Regions from separate parts of the Homo sapiens genome. Here all the other regions are linked to region 1. Evidence: promoter capture Hi-C in 16 types of primary human blood cells and fetal thymus (Javierre and others, 2016). All regions are on one chromosome and are shown on one strand. Each heading gives the region's core, a stretch centred on a gene start or on the middle of the fragment in contact. The rest is flanking DNA. Distances are from core to core; before and after follow the strand shown.

Evidence for each region. Contacts are between HindIII fragments. The CHiCAGO score rates a contact against its expected background, and 5 or more counts as called.
Region 2: a contact is called between a fragment that was not itself captured here and the fragment with the promoter of METTL3 in region 1, in 2 of 17 cell types (naive B cells and neutrophils). The highest score is 5.3, in naive B cells.
Region 3: a contact is called between a fragment that was not itself captured here and the fragment with the promoter of METTL3 in region 1, in 3 of 17 cell types (naive B cells, total B cells and monocytes). The highest score is 7.0, in naive B cells.
Region 4: a fragment that was not itself captured here is called in contact with the fragment with the promoter of METTL3 in region 1 in 4 of 17 cell types (neutrophils, monocytes, total B cells and 1 more); the score reaches 8.0 in neutrophils.

The regions. Positions count from the first base shown.
Region 1 is chr14:21,507,489-21,515,045 of GRCh38, forward strand. METTL3 (methyltransferase 3, N6-adenosine-methyltransferase complex catalytic subunit) reads right to left here and starts at 3,852. Exons shown (of 11, transcript NM_019852.5): 1 at 3,636-3,852. The coding sequence starts at 3,735. RefSeq lists an enhancer at 3,895-4,134. The HindIII fragment of the contact is 13,792 bases long and covers 1-7,082 here.
Region 2 is chr14:21,191,997-21,199,553 of GRCh38, forward strand. No RefSeq gene overlaps it. Among named protein-coding and RNA genes, the nearest start is that of LINC00641, 11 kb to the right of the region's middle. RefSeq lists an enhancer at 833-1,333. The HindIII fragment of the contact is 3,037 bases long and covers 3,249-6,285 here.
Region 3 is chr14:21,209,906-21,217,462 of GRCh38, forward strand. It overlaps HNRNPC (heterogeneous nuclear ribonucleoprotein C), which reads right to left. Exons shown (of 9, transcript NM_004500.4): 6 at 3,055-3,212; 7 at 1,905-2,018; 8 at 1,501-1,661; 9 at 1-1,401. The coding sequence ends at 1,318. Among named protein-coding and RNA genes, the nearest start is that of LINC00641, 6.8 kb to the left of the region's middle. The HindIII fragment of the contact is 591 bases long and covers 4,222-4,812 here.
Region 4 is chr14:21,237,580-21,245,136 of GRCh38, forward strand. The region is part of intron 2 of HNRNPC (heterogeneous nuclear ribonucleoprotein C); the gene reads right to left. Among named protein-coding and RNA genes, the nearest start is that of HNRNPC, 28 kb to the right of the region's middle. The HindIII fragment of the contact is 5,548 bases long and covers 926-6,473 here.

The DNA.
Region 1 (7,557 bases), core at 2,602-5,101:
CTCTACTAAAAACGATACAAAAAAATCAGCCAGGCATGGTGGTGGGCACCTTTAGTCCCAGCTACTTGGGAGGCTGAGGCAGGAGAATGGCGTGAACCTGGCAGTCGGAGCTTGCAGTGAGCCGAGATCGCGCCACTGCATTCCAGCCTGGGCAACAGATGTGGTAGGCAAATTTTTATTTCCGGTGAGAAACGAATGGAATAATCTGAACTTTTATCAAGTCTTGAGTTATATCTTACATGACAACATGATTCATAAACTTACAATACAGTGTTTCACAAGGGTTTCCTAAGAATCCTAAAGCTCAACAAAATACATTCTTTGAAATAATCAAAATAACACAGAAAGAACAGTGACATTCTGGTTTAATTTGTATGTTTCATCTTTACCTATTACCACAGTACCAAATGATGGGTCAGATCAAGCTCTCGGTCAGAAGACAAGATACATTTAATTACAACCCCAAAAATACTTTTATAAGAGTCTTAACTAGACTGGGATTACATCTGTAATCCCAGCACTTTGGGAGGCCAGGGTGGGAGGATAGCTTGAGCCCAAGAGTCCAAGACCAGCCTGGGCAACATGGCAAGGCCCTGTTTCTACAAAGAAATAAAAATTAAAAAGTAGGCAGGCATGGTAGGGTACACCTGTGGTGCTAGCCACTCAGGAGGAGGCTGAGGCAGGAGGATCACTTGAGCCCTGAGGTCGAGACTGCAGTAAGCTGTGTTCACGCCACTGAATTCCAGCCTGGGTAACAGAACGAGATTCTTATCTTACACACACACACACACAGAAAAGGGTCTTAGCTATATTACTAGCTAAATATACAAATCAAGAGATATTCACATCTAAAAAAGAAAAAATAAATAAAAATAAAAAAGGATATGTACATGCAGGGAGAATACAGTCTTATTGTCAAAAATATTAAACATGTTTAGCAAGGACCTGGATCAAAGTATCAAGGCTCTAGTAGTTAGGTCTGCATACAGCAGAAAGTTTGGTTAATACCAAAATGTAGTTAATGTCATAGAAAAATGAAATGAAACTTAAAATGACCAAGAGCAATTAGAATCATTCATTGAAAGAGTATGAATTTAGAAATGGAAAAGTATAAAGAAGTATGATGCCGGGCACAGTGGCTCACACCTGTAATCCCAGCACTTTGGGAAACTGAGGCGGGCAGATCAGCAGAGGTTGGGAGTTTGAGACCAGCCTGACCAACATGGAGAAACCCCGTCTCTACTAAAAATACAAAATTAGCCAGGAGTGGTGGCACATGCCTGTAATCCCAGCTACTCAGGAAGCTGAGGCAGGAGAATCACTTGAACCTGGGAGGCGGAGGTTGCGGTGAGCCAAGATCGCGCCATTGCACTCTGGCCTGGGCAACAAGAGCGAAACTCCATCTCAAAAATAAATAAATAAGTATGATGAGGAACAATTAAAACCAAGAAACAACAAACAACACCACAGATAGAGGATGGCCTGTCACAAAAACGACAGAAAGGTGAACACAAAGTAGTCAATGATGTAGTACACCAATATAGCGGCTTTTTAAAAGTTAATTTTGTAGGCCAGGCATGGTGGCTCACGCCTGTAATCCCAGCACTTTGGGAGGCCAACGTGAGTGGATTGCTTGAGCTCAGGAGTTAGAGATCAGCCTGGGCAACATGGTGAAACCCCTTCTCCACCAAAAATACAAAAAATAGCTGGGCATGGTAGCACACGCCTGTGGCCCCAGCTACTTGAGAGGCTGAAGTGGGAGGATCGCTGGAGCCCGGGAAGTCAAGGCAGCAGTGAGCCATGATCATGCCACAGCACTCCAGCCTGGGTGACAGAGGGAGACCCTGTCTCTAACTAACTAACTAAATAATTTTGCAGATCACTTTGTTGAAACAAACAACTACCTGATCCTCAGGTCCCCTTTTGCAACTGCCATTGCTGAATGGGAAAAGACTCCACAGGAAAATTAAATAGGCTGGATATGGTGGCTCTCACCTGTAATTCAAACACTTTGGGAGGCTTAGGCAAGAGGACAGCTTGATGCCAGGTGTTCAAGACAAATTTGGGCAACATAATGAGACCATATCTCTATTAAAAAGTTAAAAATTAGCCAGGCATGGTGGCATGCACCTGTAGTCCTAGCTACTCAGGAGGATGAGCCGGGAGGACTGCTACACTCCAGCCTGGGCAACGGTGAGAGACGCTATCTCAAAAACAAAAGCAAAAAAAGTCGTTGGCATCATTTATGCACATTTTTAAAAAGTTTCAAAACAGGAAACCAAAGAATAGGGGAAAAAACATAACAAAACAAAAAATTGTATCTATAAATAAATCAATGAAGTTTCTAGAGCAAGGGAAAAAAAATTCTCCCTCTTAGGTAATTCAGGAACTACTCTGAGACTTGACTACTAATTATTGCCTGACCATATGACTTGCACTTCTTACTCCACTATCCTCCCCTCTTACCTCTTTAATTATCTAGGTCCTATATAGCCATAAAGGCCAAATTCAAGTGCCAATTCCACTATGATGGTTTTGATGGCTTCACTACCTACACCAGCTCTTGTTACTTCTCTTCATTGTACAGACTGTAGATTCATTCATTTGGTTTCGTACATATATCTTATCATATTCCTCACTTTTTGTAAGCGTCTCCCCTTGAATCCTATGCTTTTTAAACTTCTTGAGGACAGGGGCAATTTCTTCCTTATTTTTGTCTAATTAGACCCATGAACACTGTAGATACTCAAGAAAGGTAATTAATTAGGTGGGAGGATCCTGCCAGTGCATCTTCTATTTCTAGGGGCCAGAATACGAGCACATGAACCTAACATGATCTAGACAAGATTTAGAGATGCAGTTGAAGATACTGACAAATATTGGAACAATCTACCACAAAGGTGATACTGAGTCACTATTTTTGCAGAGCTTTGTTACTAGTTTGCCTTAAATAATTCAGAGTTTGTCCTGAGGGTAGGGAGTGGATAACAGTGAATTTAATCTTTTAAATTTCCTTCAAGTTTTATGATCGTGACACGGGGGCAACAGGAGAAGAGAAAAAGTTTGGAAACCAAACACAAATGTTTTCAGATTCCTGCTAGGTATGTAAATGGCTAAGTCAATGCCGGTAGGGGTACTCATTCAGAAACACCCAGTGCCACTCTGTACGGGCCACTAAATTGGGCACTGCGGATATAAAGGTTCATTCCTCGCTTACTGTACCCACAGCTGCCAAGAAATGACCACTACAAAACAGTCGTTATAACTGAGGGAACAAAGCGCCAAAGCAGCAACAAAAAGGGGTTCTTGCTGCTTCGCGGGATAGGGGGCTGAGCAGCCTCACAAAGGCGACGTCCTCGCAGTCTGAAGAGGAGTGGGCAAGGCGGACGAGGGTGGGGCTCAAGCGTCCGTCCGGTAAAAGTGAGCTGGAAGAACCGAGGCCCAGCGTGAGGAGGAACCGCGAACTACTTGCAGAAGGGCGAACGTCTGCTGCTGAAGGTGGAGAGGGAGTACCAATGTACGAGGCTTTATAGAAATGGCCGTTTGGTAAAGGGCAGTGACTCTGGAGCTTTTTCTCTAGGGATCCCGCCCGTCCTCCCCGGTTGAGCCTCGGCCCCAACAGCCCAGTGCCTCACCCAAGTGCCCCGAGTCCTGCTTCCGCCTCCGCTGCAGCCTCTCCCGCAGAGAGTCCAGCTGCTTCTTGTGGGCCTGGATAGAGCTCCACGTGTCCGACATCCTAGTCTCCCAGCCCTGACACCTCTCGAATAAGGCGCGGCGGACTAGCACCTCCCAGCACTCGCTCCAGGATATAGCCAATTCTCACGCGGACACCCCGAAGGCTAACCGGAAAATGACCCCTGGAGCTGAGCAAGACAGAAAAGTCATTTCCGGTGTCGCGCTTTCTTGGAAGCTATAAAGAGCCACGTTAGGTGTTGGCAGAGCGGCCGGTATAGTCCTCATACCCGCTCTCTCATGCTTCCGGACACAGTGAGGCTGTGGTTGCCATGTTGGTGACTGGCAGAGCGGCCATGTTGCTTATAGACGCGCATGCGGCCATGTTGAATATTCGGAGAGGAGTCCTGAGAGTTGACTTGTGTTAAAGTAGCACTCGTAGAGAGCAACACCATATAGTACAGTTTTGGGGGTTTTTTTCTTTTTTTTTTTTTTGAGACGGAGTTTCACTCTGTCGCCCTGGCTGGAGTGCAATGGCGCGATCTCGGCTCACAGCAACCTCCACCTCCCGGGTTCAAGTGATTATCCTGCCGCAGCCTCCCGAGTAGCTGGTATTACAGGCGCCCGCCACCACGCCCGGCAGATTTTTTGTATTTTTAGTAGAGACGGGGTTTCACTGTGTTGGCCAGGCCAGTCTCGAACTCCTCACCTCGTGATCCGCCCTCCTTGGCCTCCCAAAGTGCTAGGATTACAGGCGTGAGCCACCACACCCGGCCATAGTACAGATTTTTAAGATGAAGGATCACTAGTTCCTTTTGACAGTTTGGTACTAACATACCTTTTCCACTGAAGGTGGTGTTGGTTTGTTTCCATGCGTTCATTTACAAAAAAATAAAAAACACAACGGTGGTCCCCAATCTGAGGTGAGGAGGGGGCGGTGGTGGGTGCGGGCATGCTTCTTTGTGTTGACGAGGCGTGGGGAAGTGGGGAGGGCTGATGAAGGAAAAATCCGAGAGGTCTTCAAATACGTGATCTCTCTCTTAGGCTAAATTTACAAAGTACGTGTAATCTATTAAAATCGGGTTCCGACACTAAGAGGGCTTTGAGGTCCTGGTTGCGTTGTGTTTTTTGTTATGAGAGCTACCTGCATGAGTGTGTTCAGTTTGTGAAATGTAATTGAGCTGAACATTTTGGTGTGCACTTTTCTGTATGTGTAGTAAACTTAAATACAAGGTTGGTGGTGGTGGTTTTTCCTACAATCCTTTCTTTCTTTCTTTTTTTGACACATTTTCTTTTTTTTTTTTTTTTGAGATGGAGTCTCACTCACTCTGTCACCCAGGCTGGAGTGCAATGGCGTGGTCTCAGCTCACTGCAACCTCCGCCTCCTGGGTTCAAGCGATTCTCCTGCCTCAGCCTCCCGAATAGCTGGGATTACAGGCGCGTGCCACCACACCTGGCTAATTTTTTTTATTTTTAGTAGAGACAGGGTTTCACTATGTTGGCCAGGCTGGTCTCGAACTCCTGACCTCGTGATCTGCCCCTACGATCTGCCCCCCTGCCTCAGCCTCCCAAAGTGCTGGGATTACAGGCGTGAGCCACCGAGCCTGGCCTGACACAGAGTTTCATTCTTACTGCCCAGGCTGGTGTGCAGTGGTGTGATCTCAGCTCACTGCAACCTCCACCTCCTGGATTCTAGCTGCCTCAGCCTACCTAGTAGCAGGTATTACAGGGACCTGCCACCATGCCCAGTTAATTTTGTATTTTTAATAGAGATGGGGTTTCACCATGTTGGCCAGGCTGGTCTTGAACTCCTGACCTTAGCTCATCAGCCTGCCTTGGCTTTCCAACGTGCTGGGGTTACAGGCATGAGCCACCGGCTTGGCCTTTTGTTTGTTTGTTTGTTTTGTTTTTTTAATGGAGCTCCCTGAATGGAAACATTTCGGGAATCACTGACTTATCCAATGTCTACATGATGCCATACGCTGTTGTCCAAAAAATACAAAAAATAGTTTGACTGGCATGGCTCCTGTTTTCAAAGAGTTTATAATCTGGTCAAGGAGCTGTGAGCCAGTTTATTAATACTGAACCATCTTCACAGCATGAGGTAGCATGGGCATAGACTTTTTAAAAAACAAAAACAAAACAAAACAAAAAAACAGGAAAAAAAAAAACGTGATTTCAAAGAAGAGGAGGACTCCAAGTTTAATGACCCAGGAAGGCATTGGAAAGAAGCTGGAATCAAGGTTCAGGCTTAAAATGACCACTAAGGTTTCAGTAGGTGAAGGTATAGGAGGGAAATCCAGGTCTGGAATATGATAAAGGCAAAGGTCTAGACTAGAGGTAGGAAAGCGTGATGTGTGTTATGCCAATCTGGATTAGTTCGCCAGAACATAAAGATTTATATTTGGGAATATTGGGAGAAATTTTAGGTTTCCAAATTTGAGGCCAGATTGTAGAAGGTACATGGTACCTGAGTAAAGACTTGGCAATTTATTCAGAATACAATAGGAAACACTTAGGGTTTGTAAATAGGAATGTTTCAAAATTGATTTGCTGTTCTAGATAAATTGAGGTGAGGAGGAAGGAGATTTTGGAGAGGACAAAGATGGTTATTAGTCCATTGTAACTAAGTGTCTGATGAGAAGAACTGTAACTAAAAGCTGGTTATGAACAGTAATGAAAAGGAAGGGGTGAATATGAAGGGAGCTATTGAAAGATGTATGTGTATTGTAATATGACTTTTATCCATTCAGTAAGTATTGAGTGTTTACTATGTGTTAGATACTATGGAGATTTAGTAGTGATGAAAATACTCATTTCCATCTCATTTTCTGAACTTAATTTACTTTTAGGGAATTTACACTATCTATTGGGATGTGTAACTTTGTTTTTTTGTTTTTGTTTTATTGAGACAAGCCTCACTCTCACTGCTGGAGGGCAGTGGTGCAAAGAAGTAGCACAAGTACTCCTGAAAGTCAATCAAATCAAGGGCAGCTCCCAGAAGTTTTTGCTTTCACATTAACTCTGGGTAAATTATTACAGTGGCATATTGGGCAAATTTTAGAAGTACAGGAAGGCCTCTTAGCATGATCTTCTTGTAGAGAGATTCTTTTTAGACTCCTCTTGACCAGTTTGCTGCTCAAAAGAAAGACATTGCTTTCTTGTCCGCGCGTAGCCCTCAGCAGTACACAGAGGAGAAGGAGGAGGAGGAGGAGGGAAAAATGCAGAATTCTTCTAGTCAAAATGGAGTGTAAGCCTAATTTTGAGCAGATGGGTGCTGCATGCATTACACTTCTCAACTTTTCCTCATATCTGCTATGGTAGATTGCTTCCAGTGTTGGCCACAACAATGCCTCTCACCTACATGCCCTTAGGCAGTGTGACTTTGCCCCCTTTCAATCAATAAGTAAAGCTTATTCCCCCTCCTCTTGAATCTGAGCTAGGCTTCTGACTAGCTTTCACCAAAAGAATGTGGCAGAAGAGATATTCCCTGAGTTCTAGACCTTAAGAGGTCTAGACCTTAAAAGGAATTACAGCTTTCGGGATTTGGTTTTGTTTTGTTTCTAATTTTTGAGAGAGAGTCCCTGGGTCTGTTCCATCTAAACACTGTTGAAGCAAGAGACAGATCTGAGGGACCTCCAGATGTGCTGCCGCGGCTTCTGTTTCTGCCCTCTTGGAACCCTGGGCCTTCATGGAAGTCCAGTCACCCTGATAGACCACTTAAAAAGAGAGACCCTGGGGGATGAAGGATGGTAAGGAGAGAGGGTTCAGCATTCCAGCCAGCCATCTGAGTAGCCAGAAGTTGAGGCCATCTTGGCTTCTCCAGTCCAGATGAAAGCTGCATGAGTGAGCCCAGTCCTCACCACATGGAACATAGACAAGCCA
Region 2 (7,557 bases), core at 3,517-6,016, 310 kb before region 1:
CCTGGGGCTGCATGCTTAGTGGAGCCGGAGGGAACAAGCGGGAGCCCTGCCCCTTCTGAACTGGGGCAGGACGTCCCTGGGCGCCGCTGCGGCTACCCAAACGGTGGCTGCAGACCGGGCCTCCCACTTCATGGAGGAAACAGGAGCCCCGCCCTCTTGGGCGGAGCTGCAGCTGCACAAGTTGTGGCTGCAGATCCGAGCCTCCCTGCGCTCTTTCGGGGCTGGGAGCAGGCAGGATCCCTGTCCTCCAGGGCACAGCTGCAGCCACCAAAACTGCAGCTGCAGACCTGGGCCTCCCACTCAGAAGAGCAGGCAGGAGTCCTGTCCCCCCTCCCCCAACCCCACACGCAGCTGCCGCCACCCAAACCCTGGCTGGAGACTCAGACATCCCTGCACTCTTGGGGACCCGGGAATGCCCCCCTGCCCTCGTAGGCTTGAAAGCGCCTGCTCTCACTGCCTGGCTTCTCCCTGCTGTTCCCCCTTCCCATCTCAGAGCAAAGTCTGGGAGGATACCATAAATGACAGCAGGAGGCAGACAGATTCCTGGGTGGAAGAGGGTAGGTCCCTGGTGAGACCCCACCTTCAGGCCAAGGAGGACTGGGGGCTGGGCTAACAGTCCCATGGAGTAGGAACTTGTGGTGCCTTTTCCCAGTCACCCATGGCTGCCCATGGACCAATAGTGCACACTTCCTCCCCTCTGAGGGCTTTTATGAACCCATTAAAGCCCTGGATTCAGCCAGAGCTGAGCAGACGACAGGACAACCAGCTGCAGAGAGGAGCTACCCACTCCAAGTCCTCCTCTCTACTGAGAGCTGGGAAGAGGACTGGAAGACCTGCTTGCAGAAAAGAGAAACCCACTTTAGTGCCTCCTCTCTACTAGGAGCTGAACACTCTTGGGACACCCTGGCTGCAGACCCCGCTGTGGGTCTCCAGTAAGTTGTCTATTGCTCAATAAAGCTCCTCTTCATCTTGCTCACCCTCCACTTGTCTGCATACCTCATTCTTCCTGGTCACAGGACAAGAACTCGGGACCCACCGAATGGTGGAGCTAAAAAAGCTATAACACAAACAGGGCTGAAACATGCCCCTTGCTTGCCATGTTGCAGGTGAAGAGGAGAGAAGAGCTGTGACTCCTCAGGGAGCCCAGACCTAGGAGCTCCCCAAGCCAGGACTGTGACTCCCTCTTTGGGGTCCTGCAGTGCCTGGCGTCTCCAGGCTTCCAGACACCACTGCATTTCCTGGTGCTAGCCAGGGAAGCTGCTTGCAGTGCGCCTGGTCCAGCCACAGCCTCGCAGAGAGCCAGGGCCCTTGCCAGCACCCGGAGCTGCTGGCCCCACTGCAGCAGCTAGCATGTCTGACTGCAGCAGTGGCTGGACCCCATGCTTGCTCACACACCCCTCACCACTCCATGCCTGACTCACCCTTGGCAGATGTGGGATCCATGCTGGTAGTGTGAGCTGAGTGCAGCCTGCAAATCCAAGTGGGCAGAATGAGCCCAGCAGGCCTGAGCAAAACTCAGGCAAAGGCACCACTGGCCAGAGGTTTCAGGCCAGAAAATTGACACCCCAAGGATCTCGTAACAGCAACAGATGCCAACACCAAGATGACACAAATCTTATAATTATCTGACAAGGATTTTAATGTAGACATAATAAAATGCTTCAATGAGCAATTATAAATATGCATACAACAAATGAAAGATTAGAAAATCTACGCAAAGAAATAGAAGACATAAGAACCAAATGGAAATTTTAAAATTTGAAAACACAATAACTGAAATTGAAAACAAATTGGATGGCTAAAAATAGAATGGAGAGCTGCGGCTGGGAGCGGTGGCTCATGCCTGTAATCCCAGCACTTTGGGAAGCCGAGGCAGGCAGATCGCCTGAGCTCAGGAGTTTGAAACCAGCCTAGCCAACATGGTGAAATACTATGTCTATTAAAAATACAAAAAATTAGCTGGGTGTGGTGGCGCACACCTGTAATCCCAGCTACTCTGGAGGCTGAGGCAGGAGAATCACTTGAACCTGGGAGGCGGAGGTTGCAGTGAGCCAAGATGATGCCACTGCACTCCAGCCTGGGGAACAGAGTGAGACTTGGTCTCAAAAAAAAAAAAAAAAAATAGAATGGAGATAACAGAAGAAAGGACCTGTAAATATAAAGACAGAACAGTAGAAATTACCCTACATGGACAACAGGAAGAAAAAAAAAAAAAGAACTGAGCCTTAGGTACCGTTGGAAAATAACAAAAGAGATCTAGCATTTGTGTGATCAGAGTCTTAGAAAAGAGAAAGAGAGTGGGGATGAACAAATTTCAAAAAAATAATGGCTGGATGTTCCCCAAATTTGGCAACAGACGTAAACGTAGATTCAAGAAGCTGAGGAAACTCTTGACAGATGAACCCAAAGAAATCCAGAACAAGGACATCATAATCACACTTTTGAAAACTAAGGACAAAGAAAACATCTTGAAATCAGCCAAAGGTGCATTACCTATAAGGGGACAAAATCCATTTATTTTTATTTTTATTTAATTTTATTATTTTTTAAATTCAAATACCAACTCGAAGCAGAGGGGAACAACAATTCAAATGTCATGAGAAATCATAGAGGCAAGAAGGAAGTGGCACACTTTTCAAGTGCTGAGAGAATAGTCAACCCAACATTTTATGTGCATAAAATATCCTTCAGGATGGAAATTCAGTTACACACATTTTCTCTTTCTCTCTTTCTTTTCTTTCTTTTTTTTCCTTTTTCTTTCTCCTTCCTTCCTTTCTTTCTGGTTTTCTTCTTTCCTTTCTTTTTCCTTCCTTCCTTCTTTTCTTTTTCTCTTTCTCCTTCCTTCCTTCTTCTCTTCTTTCTCTTTCTTCTTTCTTTCTCTTTCATGTTCTTTTCTTTTTTTTTTTTTTTTTTGCAGGGTCTCAATCTGTTGTCCAGGCTGGAGTGAAGTGGTGCAATCAGAGCTCACTGCAGCTTTGTCCTCCCAGGCTTAATTGATCCTCCCACTTCAGCCTCATGAGTACCTGGTACTACAGGCATGTGCCATCATATCCAGCTAATTTTGTACAGGGTCTCACCATGTTGCCCAGGCTGGTCTTGAACTCCTGGGCTCAAGCGATCTGCTCACCTCGGCTTCTCTAAGTGCTGGGATTACAAGTGTGAGCCACTGCATCTGGCCAAGACATTTTCAAATAAAGGAAAATTAAGAACTTTTGCCAGCCAATCTATCCTTTAAAATGGCCGAAGGAAGCTTTCGAAACAGATGGAAAATGATAAAAGAAGGAATCTTTAAATAGCAGTAATGAGAAAAGAACAATGGAAAGGGTAAAAACATGGTTAACAACAACAAAAAAATTATCTTCTTGGTTTTTAAAAAGATTACATTTGACGGCAGTATTACAGGTAGTCAGGCATGAGTGGCACAGGAGAGGACTGACTCTCCCTGCACCCATTAGAAATGTCTGGTGATGGTTCGGCAGTTACCACATTGCCTCTCTAAAAATGATAATGTGGCAGGGCCAGGGAGAGGCCATTTCCTGATGGTCCACACCTGTTAATTGAATGCAGGTTCCAGGGAGAAGCAACTTCCTGGTCATGGATGTTAAGAGACAAAAATGGTGAAGTATGATTTTCTGGGGACGCACCACCAGAAAAAGGAAGAAAGCCTCAGATTGGGCATGCATATAACTCCCTAAACACACTGAACAGGCTCGGTTCCAAAGGGTAAGGAAAGCACTGGGCATGCGGAAAGCCCACCCTATGGGAAGAATCCTGGGAAAGAGGCAAACTTACGAAAGTCCTAGGATCATGGTTAAACGGCATTTGACCTTCTCTATTAAACTTCATGTGCCTGCTTTTTTTTTTTATTCCAAGCGCACCTTCCTTTCTTTCCTATTCTAAGGCCTTTTTAAATAAACTTCCATTCCTGCTCTGGAACTTGCCATGGACCCATACAGATAGGCTGCTGGTACCTTGGGGTAACTCAGATCTCTGCCACTGCTAACAGTAGAAGCAAAAATCATAAAATTATTTAATGAGGTTCTCTAATAGGTAGAGGAAATATTTAATACAATTGTATTATGAATGGGGAGGGTAAGGTATATAAATAAGGTAAATTTTCTACATTTCACTTGACATGGTAAAACAATAGTAGTATACTGTAATCCATTTTGTATGTATAAGGCAACACCTAGAGCAACCACTCAAAACAACTATAAAAAGAGATACCCTCAAAAACACTGTAAAATACTACCCACAGAGTGAAAATGCAATCCACAAAATGGGAAAAAATATTTGCAAGTCATATATCTCATAAAAAATTGCTATCCAGACTATATAAATAACTGCTACAATTCAACAACATTAAAACAAACAACCTGATTTTGAAATGGGCAAAGAACTTGAATTAACAAACATTGCACCAAAGAAGATATACAAATGGTCAATAAGCACATGAAAAGATGCTCAACATCATTAATAATTAGGTAAATGCAAATCAAAGCCACATTGAGATACCACTTCACACTCATTAGGATGCTATTATAAAACAAACAGTGCCGGACATGGTGGCTCACGCCTCTAATCCTAGCACTTTGGGAGGCCGAGGTGGGCAGATGACCTGAGGTCAGGAGTTCAAGACCAACCTGGGCAATGTAGGGAGACCCCATCTCTTAAAAAGAAAGAGAAAAGAAAAAAAAAAAAAAAAAAGGCTGGGCACGGTGGCTCATGCCTGTAATCCCAGCACTTTGGGAGGCTGAGGTGGGTGGATCACCTGAGGTCAGGAGTTCGAGACCAGCCTGGCCAACATGGTGAAACCCCATCTCTACTAAAAATACAAAAATTTGCTGGGCATGGTGGCGGGTGCCTGTAATCCCAGCTACTTGGGAGGCTGAGGCAGGTGAATCGCTTGAGCCCAGGAATCGAAGATTGCAGTGAGCCGAGATCATGCCACTGTACTCCAGTAAAAAGAGTGGTAGAAGAAACAGTAAAACCAGTAAAAGGGTTCAGTAAGGTTGCGGGATACAAGATCAACATATAAAAATGAATTATATTTCTTTTCTTTTTTTTTTTGAGACAGGTTCTTGCTTTGTTGCTCAGGCTGAAGTGCAGTTGTATGATCTCAGCTCACTACAACTTCTGCAACCCAAACTCAAAGGAGACTTTCACCTCAGCCTCCCAAGTAGATGGAACTGCAGGCATGTGCCACCACATCTGGCTAATTTTTGTATTCTTTGTAGAGACGGAGTTTCACAATGTTGCTCAGGCTGGTCTCAATGAATTATATTTCTATAGACCAGTAATAAACATGGAGAAGATGAAATTAAAACACAATATCATTTGCAATCATTAAAAAAATACTTAAATACTTAGGTGTAAATCTCACAAAACCTGTACAGGATCTGTATGCTCAAAACTACAAACCAATGATAAAATAAATCAAAGATCAAAATAAATGGAAGGACATACCATGTTCATGGATTGGAGGACTAAGCATGGCAAACATGTTCAATTCTCCCAAATTAATATACAGATCTAACATATTTCCTATTATAATGAAACCATCATTGCGAAATTATAACTAAGACAGTGAAAGAGATCTGACCTAACCTCCATCTTGCTTCTAACCTCTAAGCTGCTCTTGTTCATTCCTGACAGTAGGCCAAACTAAGTTTGGGAGGAACTTAATGTACAGTCTATAGTTTGAAACAAACATAATAACAGCCCTTTCCCAAAACAAACCCCCTTCTTGCCTGAGGACTAGACTGCCTTTGTAGGACCAACAAATTAGCCAAAAGATCAGAAATTATGGTTTAGGATTCACGCAGCTAGAGGCTACAAGATTCTGACCCTTCCCAAGTTGATCCAGTGGATAACAACACTATTATAAAACCTAAGATAAGTACTTGAAATATTTTGCAAATCCTGTACTCAGTGAATCAACTGATACCACCCAGATCAATAAACTGGCTCATTTGGTTTTGTGGCCCCTACCCAGGAACTGACTCAGCACAAGAGGATGGATAGCTTTGACTCCCTATTATTTCATCTCTGGCCAATCAGAACTCCCTGTCTGAACTCAGACTCACTTTCTCCCTACCCACCAAATTATCCTTAAAAACTTCAATCCCCAAATTCTCAGGGAGACTGATGAGTAATAAAACTCCAGTGTGAATTACTCTTTCTCTATTGCAATTCCCATCTTGATAAATCGGCTCCGTCTAGGCAGCGGGCAAGATGAACCTGTGGGGCTGTTTACAACCTAGTCAATATTTTTAGAAATAGACAAGCTTATTCTAAAATTCATATGGAGGCCAGGCACGGTGGCTCACGCCTGTAATCACCACACTTTGGGAGGCCGACGCGGGTGGATCACGAAGTCAGGAGAGCGAGCATCCTGGCAAACACAGTGAAACCCCGTCTCTACTAAAAATACACACACACACACACAAAAAGCCGGGCGTGGTGGCGGGCACCTGTGGTCCCAGCTACTTGGGAGGCTGAGGCAGGAGAATGGTGTGAATCCAGGAGGCAGAGCTTGCAGTGAGCCGAGACTGTGCCACTGCACTCCAGCCTGGGCGATGGAGTGAGACTCCGCCTCAAAAAAAATAAAATAAAATAGGCCAGTTGTGGTGGCTCACGCCTGTAATCCCAGCACTTTGGGAGGCTGAGGTGGGTGGATCACCTGGGGTCAGGAGTTCAAGACCAGCCTGGCCAACATGGTGAAACCCAGTCTCTACTTAAAATACAAAAATTAGCCGGGCATGGTGGCAGGTGCCTGTAATCCCAGCTACTTGGGAGGCTGAGGCAAGAGAATTGCTTGAACCCAAGAGGCGGAGGTTGCAGTGAGCCGAGATCGTGCCATTGCACTCCAGCCTGGGGGACAAGAGTGAGATTTTGTCTGAAGAAAGAAGAAAGAAAGGAAGGAAGGAAGGAAAACTGGACTTCATAAAAATTAAAAACTTTTGCTCTGCAAAAGGCTCTGTTAAGATGAAAAGATGAGTTATAGACTGGGAGAAAATATTTGCAAATCACATGGCAAAGGACTTTAATCTAGAATATATGAAGAATTCTCAAAACACAATGGTTAAAAACAATCCAATTATAAAATGGGCAAGAGGCATGCAGATACATTTCACCAAAGATGACATATGGATGGCAAATAAGCACATGAAAACATGTTAAACATCATTAGCCATTAGGGAAATGCAAACAAATGAAAACCAGTATCAATACATCTCTGATAGAACAGTGAAAATAAAAACTAGTGCTAATCCTATATCCTGGCAAAAATGCAGAGGAACTGCATCTCTTATTGTTGGTAGGAATGTAAAGTGAGATAGCAACTCTGGGAAATAGTTTGGCAGTTTCTTATAAAACTAAACATATACTTACCATATTATCCACCATCACACTCCAGGACAATTATCCCAGAGAAATGGAAACTTATATGCACAAAAACTTATACACAAATGTTCATAGCAGCTTTATTTTTAATAGCCCAAAACTAGAAACAACCCAATGTCCTACAATAGATGAGTGAGCAGTCAGACAAACTGG
Region 3 (7,557 bases), core at 3,267-5,766, 300 kb before region 1:
TGCAATCACTGTAATTAATAAAGTTGAGGAAAACACAAAGATTAGCTAACAGGGGTAAAAGATCATTTAGAGTAAAATAAATGTGTAACATTCTCTATGTTCTCAATCACCTGGGAAGGCAGTCTATGGAATATCAGGAAGTAAGAGTTTTCTTGTTTTCAGGAACATGGAGGTATATACACTTCAGAATTCAGAAGGTAACTGGGGCTATAAATAGTAATTAAAAGAACAAAATAGAAGCAGGGGGGTTCCATTATGCAGCTGTCGCCATTTTCCTGAAATCTTGATGTTTTTGAGCCTCTCCTATTTAAGGACAAAACCATTTAGCACAAAACACAAACCTCAGAAAGGGTGCCAGCTGGACCACAAAGCACTGATGAAAAGGCAGAGAGGATATACTTCCCAAACTTTCATTAGGATGTAAAAGCCATTTTGAAAAAGTCTCCACTCTATGTCAAGTTGACTCCTCAATGCAACATGCATCTCAATGAAATATAATTTGAGTAGTGTTGTGTTGGTATGCATCATGATTATGACTCCAAGAAAAATATATCTAGTGCATTCTAGAGGTTTTGTGGAGGACGCTGTAAAACAAAGTTTGAAGTAAACAATAATAAAATACAAAAATAAAAAACCAGGGTTTTTTTTTTCTCCAAATTCCTGGTTTAATAAGGACTTGTTTATTTTGAGGAAAAAAGGTCCCAAACATCAGGCTGTTCACAAAAATAACCCACAGTATCAACTTTAGAAAACAAATCTTAAGACTATAACACTAATTATTTTTCTAGAGGATGCATTTGACATGCCAACTCTCATTCACAAAAATACATTGTTACATTTGTGTTGAACTGCCCCACACAGCACACTAATGTGAGGGTGTAACACACATACTTCTAACTCAAAGCTGCTTTCAAGAGCTACTCAACTAAATGAGATTGCCTTTGCAGTTAGGGAAGCAACTACTGAACTTATGTATGAATGAAAAGAACTGTACTCCCTGCATAACAAGAGATTATTTTGGAGACAGTTGATAAAAACCATACATCCTTTTTATTGTTAAGTCATAAAGAGGTATCAAAATTAAAAGCAAAAATTACAGGGTAAGACTTAACAAAACTACTAGGAGCGTCAAAGGAAGTGAAAATGGGACTAGGCGCGGGGCAATATGAATTAATGAACATGGGAAGGACAAGGATGGGGAGAACAGTGAGCATGTGCTGAAGATACTAGGGGAGAGGATCTGGTGAAAAATTTGATCTTAGACAAGCGCCTAGGTAAAGAAATAATGGGATAAGATTTCTAAACCCCACTATGTGCTTAAGAGTCATCCTCGCCATTGGCGCTGTCTCTGTCATCCTCTCCTTCCTCAGCCTCTTTTTCATCATCCTTGATCAACTCCAGCTGTGAGAAACAGACACAAACAGGATGGAGTTAGAGGCACTCCATGTGTCCCTGAGCCCCCCTCCACCACCTTTTTCTTTCCTTTCCCGTGGTTTTCACCTGGTCATCCCCCCGATCTTCATTATCATCATCATCCAGTAGGTCCCCCTCCTCAGCAGAGTCATCTGCACCCCCCTCAGACTCCATCTTCACATTAGTCTCATCTTTCTTCACGGAGCTGCTGCTCTGCTCCTCTTCTGACTTATCATTCTTCATCTCTACTGCGGATGAGAAGGACAAGTCTGTCTAGGGGCAGTAATGTCCACAGGACGTAGACAATCCCCACTAAGGATCACAGAACTGCAGCACAAATCTAAATCCTCCCACACAAATACCCTTCCCAATTCACACTCCCCAAGTTTCATATTACATTGCTTTATATTCCACTATTCCAACATGTACTTTCAAGTGCCTTATGTAACTAACCCAACTGTATACCAAGGGCAAGCAGAAAACCCATTTACCTGCTTGTTTGCTCTGTTCCTTTTCAATTTTTTCCAGGTTTTCCAGGAGAGAATCCACTTTTTGTTTTATCTGGGTCAGCTCCTTCTTAATGGCCTGAAGGTCATCTCCTTTCACTTTAATATAAACAAAATACTAGATTAAAATCAAATGTACCGAAGATATGAGTTAGCAAATACACTGCCACCAGACTACATCAGGAGCTCACAGGAGATACCCAGGGAGAAACAGAGCCAGTACAGATTTCTCGGTAATAAAGGCCCTTGGTTCTATTATAAAGCACGTTCTGTAATGGTTTTTATTGTTTTTAATGTCTTTTAGATCAGGGCTGTCGCTATGTTGACCAGGCCTGAGGACAGTGACTATTCACACGTATGATCACAGTGAACTTAAACTCCTGGCCTCATGAAATCCTCCCACTACAGCCTAGATCCCCAGGGTCTTAGCCTCCCCCTAAGCATCTGGGGCTACAGGCACGCACCACTGCATCAGACCTTCTGTAATGTTTTACTGCCTTCCATATTTCCAGTTACAGGAGGAGTTCAATATAGAAAAGTTAAAAAAAATCAACATACTGAACACTGTCTGAATTTTAGTTTTTAAATAACACAAAAAAATCTCAGGAACTTAACGCACACCTCAACTACATAAAGTCAAATGACATTTTTTAAATTACCTAGCTGTTGCAGTCTAGAATTGGCCACTCAATCACAATCTTGTCTCCTCTGTTATTTTGGATTTTTTTTTTTTTCTTGAGATGGAGTTTTGCTCGTCACCCAGGCTGGAGTGCAATGGCATGATCTCGGCTCACTGCAACCTCCGCCTCCTGGGTAAAAGCGATTCTCCTGCCTCAGCCTCCCAATTAGCTGGGATTACATGCACGCACCACCATCCCCGGCAAATTTTTTGTATTTTCGGTAGAGATGGGGTTCCTCCATGTTGGACAGGCTGGTCTTGAACTCCTGACCTCAGCTGATCCACCCGCTGGGCCTCCCAAAGTGCTGGGATTACAGGCATGAGCCACCACACACCCAGCCTCTTCCATTATTTTGAATACACAAAGTCATGTGGCACAAAAATATTGTAACTGCATTAGCTTCCCTATCTCAAAACACAAGAGATACCAAAATCACAAAATGAAATAATACATACACTTTCCAGACTTGGAAGATCCCCGCTGTCCACTCTTAGAATTGAAGCCACTTTTGCCCCTTCGTGAAGTGTTTCCTGATACACGCTGACGTTTCGAGGGCACTACAGCCCGAGCAATAGGAGGAGGAGGAGGTACACGTGCTGGGTAACTGTACATCCTATTGGATAAGAGGAAAATGGAATTCATTCAAACCTAACATTAACTCAGCACAATTCAACAGACCTTATGATAAATAGTAAGTGAATATTGTCTCTAGTCGTTTCCTTTTATTAAATTTCATTAAGAAGGCCAGCAAAAACCTCCACAGTGGGGTTTAGAAATCTTATCCCATTATTTCTTTACCTAGGCACATAAAATAGTTGTAATACTGTAGCAACTTTTCCTCAGGAAAATAAAACATATATCAAATTATATGGTTGGCTGGCCTTTGGCACTGGATATAAATGATTCCTCTGTACTAGTGTCAGTATTAACAGGGCATTTATTATAATGAATAGCCTTTGGATCTTATTATTTTCAAATATACATTACAATAAACAATTCACATACGGTCAAATACTCTTTAAAATGTTCCAATTAAAAGGGTATATAAACAGTGGTATATGGCATTAGCGAAATCTCTGATTCTTTTCACCCACAGAAGCACACGAATTATTACAACTAGTGATATAAGGTTGAACCATATAAAATTTCAGATCTATAAAATCAGGGCAATTTCATGTAACTGAGGGAATCATAGCAAAATGTGTTGGCTGGGTATAAATACTACTGATAAAAAATACCTCATATAAAAACAGGTAGTATCATTTCTAACTAAATTTACGCTTAATTCCAACAGGGCAGAGACCACTGTCTATCTTGTTCACTACTCACCTATGTCTAAATTCACTGGCCAGTACACACTTAGCACTCAATAAACACTGGTTGCTCAACTAATTGCTGTTTCTATTAGAAATCTTAATTTCAAATGTCTTAAACTTAGTATCCCAGTGATTGATAAAGATACACCAAAGCAGTGGCTTGGTACACTTACATTTGTAAAGAGAAAATTCAAAACAGAACAAAATACTTCTTACATGGACATCAGTTCTAAACTTTCTACATTCCACATTGTCATTTCCATATAAGAACCTATGGCAACGTATGAAAAGGTCTTCAATTCTGCAAGCTTTTTAAAAATGCAACTAACTTAATGCAAAGGCCCAGGTACTCTATAAAAATACACCTACCAACTGTTCTAACTCCAAATATTTCTTAAAAAACAAATGTGATAGTCAAGAACTTTAAAAATATTATTAATCACCTTTGTCATGATTCTCCCTCTTATATATATACAATAGTGGCAAGTTATTCTGAGTTGTAATATCTCCAATCTTCCTGTAGTGAAAACATTTACAAGATCTCATTGCTAATTCTCTCCTCTGTTAACTTAAAAGTGTTTCCACACTATTTCAACAAAGCAATGTTTAATCTTGTCCCAGGAGTGGCTATGGACAGGAACATTTTCCTAAATTAAAAGAGCAAGGAAAGCTGAGATGGAAAGACAGGTTGAGCCCAGGAGGTGAGAGAACCATGACTGCACCACTGCACTCATGCGGAACAGAGCAACACTGTCTCAAAAAAAAAGAAAACAGAAAAAAGTTTGCATTTCCCCTAAGTATGGTTAATCTCTTAGTTTAATCCATTCATGGGAATTAATGCAAAGAAAAAGATACTGAGTAACTTTTTATTATCACTACTTTCCCATTTTGACATAAAGCTTTTGGTCTTTTTGACCAAAATCTTGCAAAGTATAATGATACAGAAACTATAAAATATCAGTGTTCAGAAACTCATATCCTTTGTGAGAGATGGTAACACTTGCACAAACACAAATTGCTTAACGACAATTTCTGGAGGTGAATCAAAATAAGTTATCCATATCCATGAGCATTAAACTGAGCTTAAGCCTCAGTCCAATGGAAATAAATATCTAATCTACCTCCTAAGCCACAAACCTTCACCGGCACCCGTATCTAAACCAATGAGCTAGCTAGCTAGTTCTGTACTATCACTGGAATTTCTTTTTAAAACCTACTATTTCGTCTGACCACAGCCAAAATAAAGCAAGTAATACAGTTTTGTTTTGAATCTATGTAACAGTCTCATGAACACAATTAGGAGTCAAATTCTCTACTTTTCTGAAGAAAAATATTTCAAAATATTTCAGCCAGTTAAGGCTTTTAGTTACACAGAATGCTGCTCAGGCAGAAATGGACTCTCATTCACATCTGAGGAAGTAGTCCTTGCCTCGAAAAATGTTGAGGACGGTAAGTGTGAAAATAGAAAAAAAACATACATAGTGTGACAACCTTTAAGTTAAAAGGGATATATATTAAGAAGCTCAGTATGACTACTTCAAGCACCAGCTAAAAATTAAGCGGAAATTCTCACTATGAGAAAGCTATACAATAGATGAGGCAACAATAGCTGATTACTTACTGATTAAGGCTAGGCTGTTTAAAATCTTTTACCAGGGGAACAAGGACTAAACCCTAGGAGAATTGTAACTGCACCCATAATCAAACTTGATGGTGTTGGTATAAAATCTAGTCAGATTAAGAAATTAAAACACTCTAGAGACATTAATCACCTGAACAGATTAAGACAAAATACACCAGCCAGGTGTGGAGGCTCATGCCTGTAATCCCAACATTTTGGGAGGCGGAGGCAGGTGGATCATGAGGTTACGAGTTGAGACCAGCCTGACCAACATGGGGAAACCCCGTGTATACTAAAAATACAAAAATTAGCCGGGCATGGTGGCACACGCCTGTAATTCCAGCTACTCAGGAGGGCTGAGGCAGAAGAATTGCTTGAATCTGGAAGGCAGAGGTTGCAGTGAGCTGAGATCATTCCACTGTACTCCAGCCTCAGTGACAGAGCAAGACTCCGTCTTAAAAAAAAAAAAAAGAAAGGAAGAAAGAAAGAAAAGGAAAAGAAAAAGAAAAAAAAAACAACAAAACACACCAGCTGGATGCAGTGGCACACCTGTAATCCCAGCTACGCAGGAGGCTGAGGCACGAGAGTTGCTTGAACCCAGGAAGGAAGTGGGGGTTGCAGACAGCCATTGCACTCCAGCCTGGGCGACAGAGTAAAAACTTTTGTCTCCTCCACCACCAAAAAAAAAAAAAAAAAAAAAGACAAAGAATGTCTACCCCAATTCCAAAGTAAAAGCATTACAAGACATGTACTAAGAAGAGGTTTTCAAAGGGAAGCTTCTTAAATGGAAATTCTGACCATAAGACATTAGCTGCAAACAGTGACATTTCCTGGGTCTCAAAAAACCTAGTAATACATGTCAACACTACACCAGAGTAGACGTTAATCTATTAATAATAAAGCTATCATTTGGTACATGGACCATTTAATGGACCACAGCTGATTCTCATCTTAAAAATGTGAACAGATTGAAATAATCTGTTTTGCCGGACAGGGTGGCTCACACCTGTAATCCCAGCACTTTGGGAGGCTAAGGCGAGCGGCTCATTTGAGGCCAGGACATGGAGACGGGCCTGACCAACATGGTGAAACCCAGTGTCTACTAAAAATAGAAAAAATTATCCAGGTGTGGTGGCACATTCCTATAATCTCAGGTACTCCGGGGGCTGAGGGACAACAATCGCTTGAACCTAACAGGCGGAGTTCATAATGAGTCAAGATCCCACCACTGCACTCCGGCATGGATCACAGAGTAAGACTCCGTCACAAAACAAAAATTAAGAGAACCAAAGGAGCAGTTTTTTCCATTCTATCTCCAGTAAATACTAGTTAAATGAACTACCAACTGATGACAGACATCTGCCTCAAACTTAACTATGTAGATAAAAAAACTGATATAAAAAAGTTTAACACAGGTTTACATTAAAATTTAAATAACAATATGTCAAATTGTGACCGAAAACAATAAATCCGTTAAACTAGCTAGCTAGCTAGTTCCGTACTATCACTGGAATTTCCTTTTAAAACCTACTATTTCATCTGACCATAGCCAAAATGAAGCAAGTAATAGTTCTGTTTTGAATCTATGTTAACAGTCCCATGAACACAATTAGGAGTCAAATTCTCTACTTTTCTGAAGAAAAATATTTCAAAATATTTCAGCCGGTGGGGCTTTTAGTTACAAAGAATGCTGCTCAGGCAGAAATGGACTCTCATTCACATCTGAGGAAGTAGTCCTTGCCTCAAAATGTTCGTAACATAGTTGGAATTCTTGATTTTGTGCTTAAAAATAAATCAACCAGCAAAATTTTTGTAGCTTGTGTTTTATTTCTAAACTGAAATCAATGATTTCTAATGTTATTTGCAAGTACTTCACCACAAACATGCTGTCTTAGTCTAGCATCAGTTTACCCGGATACTATCAACTGCAAGCACCACTCATTTAAAATATAAAACGACTAAATGGTAAACCAGTATGCTCATTTGCTCACCACTGGAGCTATACAAGGTATTCACCACAT
Region 4 (7,557 bases), core at 2,450-4,949, 270 kb before region 1:
TTGATGCTTAAACAATACCATTTCTCTCTAGGTAGTATGGTGTGGTTTCTCGAGCACCACTTTTAACATGTTACGCAGACTGTTGTTAGAAATCCTAAGAACAGTCCCTCAGTTCTTTCATGTAACAGGTTGCCAGCATCCTTTTATAGTAGTACAATAGTTTAGATAAGTAAAACAAACTCCTTGATCACATTTTTTTTTTAATTTTTTTGAGTTGGAGTTTCACTCGTTGCCAAGGATGGAGTGCAATGGAGCAATCTTGGCTCACTGCAACCTACGCCTCCCTGTTCCAAGTGATTCTCCTGCCTCAGCCTCCCCAGTAGCTGGGATTACAGGCATGCGCCACCAGGCCCGGCTAATTTTGTATTTTTAGCAAAGACCAGGTTTCTCCATGTTGGTCAGGGTGATCTTGAACTTCTGACCTCAGGTGATCCGCCTGCCTCGGCCTCCCAAAGTGCTGGGATTACAGGTGAAAGCCACTGCACTCGGCCCTGATCCCATTTTCTTGCCTTGTTACTCCCTTTACATCTGGAAGGTGTAAAAACCACTTGTAGAATGAATAGGTCTACTTTTGCTTTTTGCCTCATACAGATCTAAATTACTTGGTCATATTCTATATGAATTTTTATAACCGAGTTCTAACAACTAACAACCCAATAGTAATAAATGTCCAGCAATAATAGTCTTTTAAAAATACAACTTCAAGTGATGTGCAAATTATAATTTGAGTCAAAAAAATAGTATCTGAAAACGTACAATACATAGGAGACATAAATGAACTACATAAAAATCATTTAAGAACGGACAGTACAGAAACACATCAAAATATCTTAAAATGTTCTGTGGGTACTCTGCTTGTGATTAATCTTTACAATCATTTTCACAGTTTCTCTGTATTTCCCAAATTCACTACAATGTACATACAAGCTTGGGATTTCTGTAGGAAAAACTCATTTAAGCCAAACAAATATTCCTTAAAACAGAAAATCCATTTGGTAGAAATTTTAAAAGGTTAATCACATTAGTAATAATAGTCCAAGTCTTAATGCACCTGTATATACTCAAATATTTTGAGGTCAATGCCCCTCATCATCATATTTCCCCTCTTCTAGTTGAAGGGGTCTAGAATTTTTCTTTTTTTAATGCAAGCTAACCCAGGGATCCTACTCTATCACCATTTACTAGTATGTAATAGTCGAATAATGCTGTTAGATAATAAAATGGCACTAATTTACATGAACTAGATTTAACATTAAGAAATCTGGGGCTGGGTGCAGTGGCTCACACCTGTAATCCCAGCTCTTTGGGAGACTGAGGCAGGCAGTTCACATCAGGTCAGGAGTTCAAGGCCACTCTGGCCAACATGGTGAAACCCCATCTCTACTAAAAATACAAAAATCAGCCATGCGTGGTGGCCTGCACCTGTAGTCCCAGCTACTCGGGAGGCTGAGACAGGAGAATCGCTTGAACATGGGAGGAGGTTGCAGTGAGCCGAGATCGTGCTAATGCACTCCAGCCTAGGCAACAGAAGGAGACACTGTCTCAAAAACAAACAAACATACAGTTCAAATATTCCAGCCTCCATTATTTGTAAATCAGAAGGTTAAATACTTCAAAAGTGAAGCAGTAGTTTAGTCACATTTCCAGCCAGGCACTTTGGGAGGCCGAGGCAGGTGGATCATGAGGTCAGAACGAGACAGTATCCTAGCTAACATGGTGAAACACCATCTGTACTAAAAATATGAAAATAATTAGCGGGGTATGGTGGCACACACCTGTAGTCCCAGCTATTCGGGAGGCTGAGGCAGGAAAAATGCTTGAACCTTGGAGGCAGAGGTGCAGTCAGCGGAGATAGCGCCACTGCACTCCAGTCTGGGTGACAGAGTGAGATTCTACCTCAAAAAAAAAATGTCCTCAACAAATGAGAACCTTAGGTGCTATTTCTTTCTTAAACTCAACATGTCATGAAAAGCTCTGTCATGAAAAGGATAGACTTTAAAAACCTAAAATTAGGCCAGGCACGGTGGCTCACACCTGTAATCCCAGCACTTTGGGAGGCTGAGGCGAGCAAATCACCTGAGGACAGGAGTTCGAGACCAGCCTGGGCAACATGGTGTAACCCGGTCTCTACTAAAAATACAAAAACTAGCTGGGTGTGGTGGTGGATGCCTGTAATCCCAGCTACTTGGGAGGATGACACAGGAAAATCCCTTGAACCCGTGAGGTGGAGGTTGCAGCGAGCCAAGATCATGCCACTGCACTCCAGCCTTGGCAACCGTGTGAGACTGGGTCTCAAGAGAGAAAAAGGACAAAAAAAGCGGAAAAATAGTGGTTAGCACTCAAATTTCTATTACACACATGGACAAATGCGTTTGTATATTATATACTATAATTTCATTACAGGTTCTTATTCCTGTTTTTAATCAAAGGATCACAAAAGACCTGTTTTACCTAGAAAACAAGTCAAAACCAGGAATACTAAGTTATTTCTAATGCCCAAAAATCTGTGTTTTTGTCTGATATGCTTGTCTGTTTTATCATATGCTCTATCCTGAAGCAATAAAAGCGATACAAGATTTTAATAGTAGTGGGAAGGACAAGAAATTTCCTGAATATAGAAATTTGCCTCTACTCGCACTCTCACCATCCCAGCCACAGCTTAAAAGCAAAAAATAAGTAAAAACTCTATCTAGTTGGGATATAGCCAAACTGTAAATTTTATTTCCAACTGTTCATTGTAAGTGTGAGGTGCTATCATGCCTCTTCACCCTTTTAATGGAGGGAAACCAATCTTGGATTGTCAATCTAGCTAAAATTTTGAAAATATATTTATAAAAATACTTCATTACCATTACATTAACTTTAAATCTCAAGTAATTCAATTCTACTTGGAAAAGGTACGGCAGTTTGCATTATCTGAAGATTTTTTACATAAATAAAGTTCAAGTGGTCCACAAACAGGTTGTGAGAGCCCTGGAATTTGCTGAGAGCTGAGCCAAAATGAATTTGAACATGGAGTCAAGACTTCAGCTTCCTTTTTTATCTGGGCACTGTATGCCAGCTTTGATAGAGTTCAGGTCACAGGAGATAGGTGCCGTTCAACCCAACTGTTTTCAGTATATCTTGGCTTATTTAGTGCAAAAGTATACAAGTTAAACAAAGTACAAGATGTTTCTACTGGGCATTTATTTCAGCAAGCCCTGGCCACCTCTCCACATGGGTTAATCACATTATACTTAAAACACATTATCCAATGGTCCAGGAGAAAAAAATTAAACATGCTGTCACTTTCACTTACCAGACATTATCTCACACTAGAGACAAAGGAAAATATATATTACCTCAGATTTGGAAATTCAAAACCCTGCCTTACAATTTCCTTTATTACTGTATCTTAAAACCTCAACTAGGCCAGGTGCGAAGGCTCACGCCTGTAATCCCAGCACTCTGGGAGGCCGAGGTGGGTAGATCATGAGGTCACGAGTTCAAAACCAGCCTGGCCAACGTGGTGAAACCCTGTCTCTACTAAAGACAAAAATTGGTGGTGGCAGGCGTCTGTAATCCCAGCTACTCGGGGGGCTGAGGCAAAGAACTGCCTGAACCCAGGAGGCGGAGGTTGTAGTAAGCCGAGATTGCACCCCTGCACTCCAGCCTGGGAACAGAGCAAGACTATGTCTCAAAAAAAAAAAAAAAAAAACCACAACCATAACAACAAAAAAACCTAAAGTAGCCCCTGCATTCAATTCAAATTAAATGCCAATTCTATATACTAAATATGCTATATATGTAAAATTTCCCTTCTTTGCAGAATTTCAAAGACAAAAGTGACACTAGATGGCAGCAATGAGTTGTCAATTTTCTAAAAGGTTTACTAAATTTTCTGTATTCCAAAGTTTTCAGTCATTCACAATTTCTTAAGTTTCTGAATACTCTTTGGATACTATAAATTCCTCTGCATACTTGGATGATCTTCATTTGATCTAAGTTGTTGAACACACTTCAAGTCTTATTTTGCCTATTTAGGTCCGGCTACCCTATCCCACATTACTCTCTATCTGGTCACCATTTTTGTACCCTGCTTCCTATGGATCTTATTGCTTTCAACTACTTCCCTCTGGCCTCTTCAGAGGCCAACAATGCCTGGAAAAATATGTGCATTTTAATTTGCTGAACTGCCAAGAATCATTAGCTCATTTAATCAAAAACAGTATCTCAAGGTAAATACTGTGAGAGTAATCTCTGAGAAAACAGTAATACCTGGGGATATTACTAAGACATTTTCAGCCTATGAAGAAACAAAGTTGGCTACTTTTAGAACACATTATGTTAACTGCTATGTTTAAGTATTAGAACTAAGAATACCTAAGACCTTGTACATCATGGTGGGAAAATGAATAATTCAATACATGGTACTACTAGGTAGCCATCTTTTTCAAAAATTGGAACCAACCTCACTCTAAATCCTAATATAAATACAAATCGTGTAAAACTGCACACGCAAAGGTCAAAACCCAAATGAAATAAAACAACTCTCAAAAGGAAGAGTAACAAAATTTAAAAATGGCAGGAAATCCAAACAAATGGATCATAAATATAATCATATATAATAATAATAAGGTGTGGGGCCAGGCAAGGTGGCTCACGCCTGTAATCCCAGCACTTTGGGAGGCCAAGGCAGGAAGATCACGAGGTCAAGAGGTGGAGACCAAACTGGTCAACATAGTGAAACCCCATCTCTACAAAAAATACTAAAAATTAGCTGGGCGTGATGTCAAGCGCCTATAATTCCAGCTACTCTGGAGACTGAGCTAGAAGAATCGCTTGAACCCAAGACGCGGAGGTTGCAGTGAGCCTAGATCGTGCCACTGCACTCCTGTCTGGTCGTCAGTGCAAGACTCCGTCTCAAAAAGATGTTAAGACACATTATTTAAAATTTATTTACATTGGTGAGGACTTAACACCAATTTAACATATGAGAGTACTGTCGATGTATGCTAAAAGCGCCAGGTAAAACTTGGTGAGTGGAGTACAGGATTTGCAAACAGATACTCTATAATTACATAGGGGGAAAATGTATCTTTACAATGAAGACCTGGAGGTCTCAACCTAAACTAAGGGATCATAGTTAGAAAGTTGTAGGACAACCTAACATTGCATGCCTCCTGATGTGACACACTTAAACACGCATTATCACCTACGCATTATTCTCACCAAGCTATCTTTCTAGAATCTATATATGGGGGAAACAATCAGACAATTTCAAGTTTGTGGGCAATCACAATACAACTGGTTTGGACACCTCAAAAAATAAAAACTAGGGGCCTTTTTCTAGATTAAAAAAGCAGTGCCGGCATGGCCAATGTGGTGAAACCCCATCTCTACTAACAATACAAAGATAAGCTGGGTGTGGTGGCACATACCTGTAGTCCCAGCTACTTGGGAGGCTGAGGCAGGAGAATTGCTTGAACCCTAGAAGTGGAGGCTGCAATGAGCGGAGATCAAGCCACCTCACTGTCTCAAAAAGGAGAGGTGGGGGGGTGGGCAGTGTGTGAATTCTGACTGAACACTAGACTGGGCAAAAGAGACATTTTTATCTAGATAATTTTACTATCAATTGTTTAATTACTGAATTGATGTTCATTATTCTTTTGATAATATTTTGGTGGCATGTATTTCCTTTATTCTTAGGAGATGCAGCCACATGGAAGCTCCTAACTTCAGTGCGTATCATGTTTGCTGAAGTATCATGTCAACAAACTTTGAAATCATTCAGGAGAAAAGTGTAGAGGACAAACATGGCAGTTGCTATCCGAAGAGTGGGGCTTACACAGGAATGGTTTATTCTATGTATGTATATATTGTGTTCAAAAGTTTTCTTAAGATGCTATATATAGCAGATTCAAAAATGATATACACCAGATTGCACACTTCACCAAATTTCCAAAGAAAAGATTACATCTTTTTTTCTGTCAAATCTGCTTATGTAACAATGATCATGCAATGAAGTGAAGGAAAAGAAACTGGCATTTCCATTGTTTTAACTAACTAAACCAGTACACGTTTTGTAGGCTCATATGAAAATTCTCAATAAAAGGTATCAAGCAATGGGACGGTAGGTCCCTATATCTGTATTCATTAATCAACTGAGGATATTCAATTTCAAGTACTTCCATGTTTGCTTGGAACTGAATCTTTTATATAAATCTGTGACAAAAGATACTTGACAGCCATTAAACAAAAACATGGTAGAATACTTACTGACTGGAAAACATCTACCACGTAGAGGTTCTAACACTATAATAATTACATATTAGTAAAATATACATATATATATACCTGTAGCTACATAAGACAGAGAACAAAACATAAAAATGTTGATGGTGGTTACCTCTGAGTGCTGATGACATAAGTAAATGAGTAAATACTATTTTTATCTGCATATTTCCTCCAAGTTTTTTTTTTTTTTAAGACGAAGCTTAGCTCTTGTTGCCCAGGCTGGATTGCAGTGTTGCGATCTTCGATCACTGCAACCTCTGCCTTCCGAGTAGCTGGGACTACAGGCGCCCGCCACCACATCCGGATAATTTTTTGTACTTTTAGTAGAGATGGGGTTTCACCATGTTGACCATAGCTGGTCTCCAACTCCTGACCTCAGGTGATCCGCCGACCTCCACGTTCCAAAAGTGCAGGGATTATAGGCGTGAGCCCCCACGCCTGCCCGCAAGTTCTCTCTATAAAGCACTTTTATAATCAAAATTGTTTCCTTTCAATGTATGAGTGATGTAATGCAACAAATAAAAAATTAAGGTCTTAAAACATCTCGATGTAAAAAACTAATTCATGTCATTTAATTTCCCCCGAGGTCCCTCAAAAGATGCTAAAAATTCCATTTAAGGTATCCTTTCTCACTTACCAATGGTGGAGCTTTTGAATTGCCAAAGTCAGAGAACTCACAATCTAATGATATACGATTCTAAATCATAGTTGACTCTTTAATTCTTCCCTTAGCTCTATTCTTGGAATTACATTCATCAGTAAACCAATTAATCACACATTGCTTAATGACAGGGAAATGCATGAGAATTGTATCGTTATGCAATTTTGTCACTGTGTTAATGTCGTAAGAGTGTAGTTACCCAATACCAAGCTAGATAGTGTAGCCTACCACACACCTAGCCTGTATCGTATAGCCTATTGCTCCCAGACTACAAACCTGCATAGCATGCACAGTACTGAACACTATAAGAAGTTCTAACACAGGGCGGGAAAGGTGGTTCACGCCTGTAATCCCAACACGGAGTTTGAGACCAACCAGACCAATATGGTGAAACCCAGTCTCTACTAAAATAACAAAAATTAGCCAGGCGTGGTGGCATGCGCCTGTAGTCCCAGCTACTCAGGAGGCTGAGGCAGGAGAATCGCTTCAATCCCGGAGGCAGACGTAGCACTGAGCCAAGATCACACCACTGCACTCCAGCCTGGGAGACAGAGCGAGACTCCATCTCAAAAAAAAAAAAAAAAAAAAAAGCAAAAGAGAAAACAAGGGCTGAGTCTAAG